Regions from separate parts of the Homo sapiens genome. Here region 1 is linked to region 2. The links are contacts of gene promoters, found by promoter capture Hi-C in human tissues and cell types (Jung and others, 2019). All regions are on one chromosome and are shown on one strand. The core of a region is centred on a gene start or on the middle of the fragment in contact, and the rest is flanking DNA. Distances in the headings are between cores, read along the strand shown.

The links. The method cuts DNA at HindIII sites, captures the fragments that hold promoters and counts their contacts. A contact is called where the count stands out against the background at its distance.
Region 1: a contact is called between the fragment with the promoter of LSM7 here and the fragment with the promoter of TCF3 in region 2, in 4 of the 25 tissues and cell types used here (IMR-90 fibroblasts, bladder, lymphoblastoid cells and 1 more).

The regions. Positions count from the first base shown.
Region 1 is chr19:2,326,997-2,330,032 of GRCh38, reverse strand. It overlaps LSM7 (LSM7 homolog, U6 small nuclear RNA and mRNA degradation associated), which reads left to right and starts at 1,447. Exons shown (of 4, transcript NM_016199.3): 1 at 1,447-1,472; 2 at 1,556-1,646. The coding sequence starts at 1,467. It overlaps SPPL2B (signal peptide peptidase like 2B), which reads right to left and starts at 1,349. Exons shown (of 15, transcript NM_152988.3): 1 at 1,258-1,349. The coding sequence starts at 1,323. RefSeq lists silencers at 1,063-1,322, 2,343-2,442 and enhancers at 1,533-1,582, 1,593-1,642, 1,078-1,732, 2,013-2,072. The HindIII fragment of the contact is 22,122 bases long and covers 1-3,036 here.
Region 2 is chr19:1,651,002-1,654,225 of GRCh38, reverse strand. TCF3 (transcription factor 3) reads left to right here and starts at 1,611. Exons shown (of 19, transcript NM_003200.5): 1 at 1,611-1,926. RefSeq lists enhancers at 873-982, 1,103-1,152 and silencers at 1,443-1,492, 1,503-1,632, 2,163-2,242, 2,333-2,562, 2,370-2,592 and 1 more. The HindIII fragment of the contact is 17,847 bases long and covers 1-3,224 here.

The sequences.
Region 1 (3,036 bases), core at 198-2,697, 680 kb before region 2:
TTTCCCCCTCCTTCCAAATGTCTGGGGAGCTCTAGGTGCCTGGCTGCAGAATGGGGGGAGTCCAAAGGGGGCTGACAGAGCAGCTGGGGGTAGGACTGGGGTTCTCAGAAAGCTTCCGAGGGGGCCCGACAGCCTTGCAGAGACCAGGGGCATCTCAGGGTAAGAGAAAAGACTAGAGAGTGAAGCGACTGCAATGAGCTGCAGGCTTCCCCAGCAGCCAGGTCACAACTGGACGGCGCACTCATCTGGATGCGACACGGTCTGACATACTTTGAAAGGGTCACCCCTGCTGTGTCGAGGATGGACTGGGGATGTGGTGGACAAAGGCAGCCACAGCAGAGGGATAGCGGTGGGGCTGGAGGAGTGGAGACTGAGGAGCCAGGTGGCGGCGACGCCTTAAGAGTGAGAACTCTGAGGGGGTAGTGAAGGTTAAGGGCTGCATTTGTGGGGCTGCTCCAGGTTCCATTGCCTGAGCCACCGAACTCAGGAGAGAGGGAAGATTTGGAATTAAGAAAATAAAAGATGCAGTTATGACAGTGCGATCTCGTAGACTGTCCCCACTAGAACCTGACACTCTTTACATCAAATGACACACAATGAACATAATGAAGGCCTGTTGGCCCTGGGCGCTGGTCACCCTGGACAGAACCTCCAGAATCCACACCATAGTCGGTCCTCCTTCTGCACACGAATTCCATCGTCCAAGGTCACGGAGTAAAAGATGGAGCGGGGATCCGACCCCAGTGCAGGGCTGGACTCCTGGCCGCTCCAGGATGCTGCCAGTTACTGGGGGACGCGCGGGACGCCTCTGGGTTCCCCCACCGCACCCCCTAGGGTGAGGTTAGCTTAGCACCGTGCCCGTTCCGCCTAAGGGGAAACTGAGGCTCGGAGAGGGGTGGGCAGCCGCCTGCTCAAGGCCACAGAGCCGGAGAGAGGCGTCCCCGGCGGCAACTGGAGACCCCGAAACGGAGAAGCAGAACCGGAGGATGGAGGGGGCACAAATTTCAGACCCGGTGGGAAGTGAGTGGCGCTGCAGCGGCGGAGGGCCTCCGAGGCGGGGAAAGGAGAGGAGCCGGGGACAGACCCGCAAGGTCACGGCCGAGCCCCGGCACCGCCGGCCGACAACGCGGGGACGGCGGATCCCCGAGGCTGGACCCCCAAGACGGGCCGAGCGGGGTCGTTCCTGCGCGTAGCCCGGGGACAGAGAGGCCGAAGGGCCGCAGCCCGCGGTGCCGTCGGGACCGGTGCCGCGCTCACCTGGGCCGCGAGGAGCAGAAAGGCCGCCAAAAGCCGCGCCAGCGCAGCCGCCACCGCTGCCGCCATGTCGGCCGGTGCCCGCCGCAACCAACGGCAGATGTTTCCCAGCAACGCCCCGAGACCCCGGGCCACGCATGCGCCGCGCATGCGCGTGGGGGAGGTCAAAGGGCGCGGGGCGGTGCCTGCGAAGAGCCACACGGCGCGACAAGATGGCGGTGAGCGCGCGGCGGAATCTGGAGCCGGGGGGCGTGGAGCTCGGGCCGCGCTCCAGGTCTCATGCGCTCTGCTTTCCCCGCAGGATAAGGAGAAGAAGAAAAAGGAGAGCATCTTGGACTTGTCCAAGTACATCGACAAGACGATCCGGGTAAAGTTCCAGGGAGGCCGCGAAGGTGAGGAGGCTCCCGCTGTCGGTACCCCCTCTTTAAAAATTTCAAATAAACCCAGCAACAGAGATGATGAGGACGCATGCGGAAGCACCTCTTTTATTTATTTTCATTATTTTTTTTGAGACGCAGTCTCGCTCTGTCACCCGGGCTGGAGTGCAGTGGTGCGATCTCAGCTCACTGCAACCTCCGCCTCCCAGGTTCAAGTGATTCTTGTGCCTCAGCCTCCCGAGTAGCTGGAATTAATGTGTACCACCACGCCCGGCTAATATTTGTATTTTTAGTAGAGAGGCCATGTTGGCCAGGATGGTCTCAAACTCCTGGCCTCAAGCGATCTGCCTGCCTCAGCCCCCTAAATTGCTGGGATTTCAGGCATGAGCCACCATGCCCAGCCTAGCATTTTTGACTGGGCAAGTGAGCTGCCTTCTCCTAGCCTCCGTTTCCTCATTTGTCAAATGGGGCTGGTAACTCCACCCACTTCACAGGGGGTGGTGAGAATGAATGGTTACAGGCATGTAATGTAATTGAGGCAGCTCTCAGCAGGAAGTAAGCAGTCAGACAACACGTCACTTATTCAATAGCCTCTTGGATCTTTGGTTTCTTTTTTTTGTAAGACGGGGACCCAAACCTCTTTGTCCCTGGATTGTAGACAACTGGGTGGCATGAGAGTTATTAAAAATCACAGTGCCCCAGCCGGACGGGGCGGCTCACGTGTGTAATCCCAGCAATTTGGGAGTCTGAAGCAGGAGGGTGGCTTCACCCTAGGGTTTGAGGCTGCAGTGAGCTATGACCGCACCACTGCACTCCAGCCTGGGCCACAGAGCAAGGCCCAGTCTCAAAAGAGAAAAAGGAGGCCAGGCACAGTGGCTCATGCCTTTAATCTTGACACTTTGGGAGGCCGAGGCAGGCAGATCAGGAGGTCAGGAGATCAAGACCATCCTGGCCTACGTGGTGAAACCCTGTCTCTACTAAAATACAAAAAGTTAGCTGGGCATGGTGGCGCACGCTTGTAGTCCCAGCTACTCGGGGGGCTGAGGCAGGAGAATTGCTTGAACCCCAGAGGCGAGATTGTGCCACCGCACTCCAGCCTGGCGATAGGGCAAGACTCCGTCTCAAAACAAAAAGAAAAAGGAATATGAATAAAATGTTTTCTCAGTCTACACCATGCTGACTCCGGACATGGAAGGACATGAGTGAGCGGCCGCTCTTGCTGGTCACACTGCTTCCCTTTGTTTTCTGCCCTTCATAGCAAATCACCCATTTAGCAGCTGAAACAGCACCATTTTATTATCTCACAGGATCTGTGAGTCAGGAGCCAGGGTACCACAGCCTCAAGGGCTCTCAGGAGGTTGTAACTGAGGGTTGTTTTTTGGGGTCCATCATCTTGGGGTCTTCT
Region 2 (3,224 bases), core at 362-2,861:
GGAGCCAAGCGGGCCAGCGAGATGGTGGCATCTTCCCAGGCTGGGAGTGGAGTGTAAATTTCCCTTTGGGGCCCCAGGGAGCCCTGGGAGATTGTGTTATTTTCATTTATTTGTTTAGTTATTTTACTTTTTTTTTTGAGACGGAGCCTCGTTCTGTCGCCCAGCCTGGAGTGCAGTGCTGCGATCTCTGCTCACTGCAACCTCTGCCTCCTGGGTTTAAGCGATTCTCCTGCCTCAGCTTCCCGAGTAGCTGAGATTATAGGTGTATGCCACCACGCCCAGCTAATTTTTGTATTTTTATTTTATTTTACTTATTTATTTATTTATTTTGAGACGGAGTTTCGTCCTTGTTGCCCAGGCTGGAGTACAATGGCGTGCTCTCGGCTCATTGCAACCTCCGCCTTTCGGGTGAAAGCGATTCTGCTGCCTCAGCCTCCCGAGTAGCTAGGACTACAGGTGCCCGCCACCATGCCCGGCTAATTTTTGTATTTTTAGTAGAGATGGGGTTTCACCGTGTTGGCCAGAGAGGTCTCGAACTCCTGACTTCAGGTGATCTGCCCGCCTTGGCCTCCCAAAGTGCTGGGAATACAAGCGTGGGCCACCGCGTCCGGTCAACTTTTTAAATTATTATTTTAAATTATTTTAAATATTTTTAGAGACGGGTGTGGGTGGGGGGGGTTTCACTATGTTGTTCAGGCTGTTCTCGAACTCCTGGCCTCAAGCGATCTTCCCGCCTCGGCCTCCTTCAAAGCGCTGGGATCACAGGCAGGAGCCACGGCGCCCGATCCTAGGCGGGGTCACTTTTTACTAAAATGTAGACACGGACTACTAAGAATCAGGAAGCCAGATCTGGCCTGAGTTCTGTCCAAAGTCAGGTCCAAATTCACAGATGCCGAGACGGAGACTCAAGTCGGCAAAGGCACCGCTGAGACTCCCCGCGGGGCTCTCTGACCCAGAGCCGGAGCCAGAGTCGGTTTTCCCGCCGGGAAAATGGGTCTGACGTAGCCCCCTCGGGGCCGTGATACCCGCTCGCACCACTCAGCACGCGGGGCCGGCCCGAGGAACGCAAATATAACCAAGCAGAAGGCTCCGCGCGGGCGGCCACGCCAACCTGAGAACAAAACTCCAGGACCCACCCCGGCCGCCTCTCGCGGCCTCTCGCTCGCAGAGTCCCGCCTCTGCTGAGGGGCGGGGCCGAGAAGAAAGGAGGCGGGGCCTCACCACGAATGGCTAGGATCCCCGCCCATCAGACTTTCGCGGCTTCCGATTGACCAGACTGCTCTGCCTTAGCTTTCAATCTCACGGGCCTTACTCGCTTGCGTCATGGACTAAGCGCACAGCTCGTGTGTGCTTCCGCGGACGGGGATAGTCCGTGATTTCTCCCCGCGCCGTGGCCCGACCGCCTCCTCTGCGCGTCCCCGCTCCCAGGCTCTGGACCTCACGGGATTCGGGGTCCTCACGAGGGTGCTCGAGAGGCCGAGCTAGGGCGTTCGGGCCCGAGCCGCCCGGAGGTGGCGGAGGGATCCGCGTGGGCCGCCGGGCGGGGCACTCGGGGGCGGGGCAGGGGCGGGGCCTGCACGGGGCGGGGCGGGGCGGCGCGGGCGGGGGGCGGAACATGTCTCCCGCCGCAGGAAGATGAGGCAGCGGCGGCGGCTGCGGGCGTAGCGGGCCGGAGCCGACGCGGCGGCGGGCACCGCGGGCACCGCGCACGCCGCTGCCCCAGGGGCGCCCCGGCCGGCCGCGCGCACGGGCCCCGCGGGACGGGCCACGCGGGGGTGGGAGGGGCCCGGGCCACGCGCGCCGCCGCCGCCGCCCACGCGCGACCCTCGGGGGCCCGGCCGCGACGCACCTTTGTCCGGGGGGGGGCCCCCCCGCTTCATGCCGCCGCCCCCCCCCACGCGCCGCGTGCCCGGCCGCGCCCAGCAGGTGAGCCCGGCGGGGGGCGGGGGGCGCGCCCGGTACCCCCGTGCTTTGTGCCCAGGGAACCCCGGCCCGCCCCGCGCGCGCTTGTTGGGGGGGGGCGCGGAGGAAGTTGGGGCGGGGGCGGTGTCGGGGGGCGCCCCGCGGCCCGGGAGTCATTGTTCTCCAACTTCGCGCGGCGCCGGGGGGGCGGCGACGTGGAGGAGCCCGGAGCTCGCCAGGCCCGCGTCGCCCCCGTCGGGCCGGGCACTTCGGGAAACTTTAAGCAGCCCCGGGCGGGGGCGCGGGGGGCGCCGGACGGGCTGTGCAACTTAGGCGCGAGGACCGTCCCCCCCAGCCCGGGCGCACGGGGACCCCGGGGCGCCCCCTTTCTCGGGTAGAGGGGGGCCCGGCCCGGGCGCCGGAGTTTGGGGTGGGGAGCGCGCGGGAGGGACGTCCTTTTGTCTGCGCGGGGAAGGTGCCGCGCGCTGCAGGCGCTGGTCGGGGCCGGGCGGGCCGGGGGGGGGCGCGCGGGTAACATCTGCTCCGCGTTAATGCGGGGCGAGGCGGCGGCCGCGCTGCGAGCTTCAAAGGCTCCCGGGCCGCACCGCCTGCACCGGCTGCGGGGGGAGGGGGGTCCGGCTTCCCGGGCCGCCTCCCCCCGGGAAAAAGGCGTTCCAGCGCGCCCCCCGCCTTCGGCGCCGTGCAAAGTGGCTTCAAACATTCTCCAAGTCTCTCAAAGTCCTTGGGACGCCCCAGAAGTCTTCCAGCTCCCGTAGAATGCCCGTTTTAGCTCGCCACCCCCCCAACTAAGTCTGTCTTAAAATCGGTTTCAGCTACCCCACAAAAAAGTGCGGTTTCGTAGTCCTCAAAAAAAGTCAGTTTCACACGCCCTCCAAAAAAGAAAAAAACTGAGCGGGGGAGGGGCTGCGCTGGGGCGCCCGCTTCACACCCGGCCTCCAGTTGGCAGACAAAGAGGGGATTTCTCTGCTTCTGAAGTTGGGTCTCCCTCGACCTCGGAGGCTCCTCCCCACCCCCAGCCTCGGAGGTGTCTCCCGGGCTGCCCCCGTCCCCACCTGGGGACCCCTGGGGAAAGTCGAGACTGGAGGGGCCTGGAGTGCATTTCTTTGGAATGGAAATTTTTCTCTGTACCTTTTTCTGGGGGTGGAATGGGTCTTGGCAGGTGGATCCCCCATCCCCCATCTTAGAATGGAGCCCCCTGGGACCACGCGGGAGCACCCTGGTCTTGAGACGCTCTCCCCGCTCATGGAGGGCAGGCAAGGGATGTTGTCAAAGTTTTGCTTAAAAATAATTCCCGGATACAT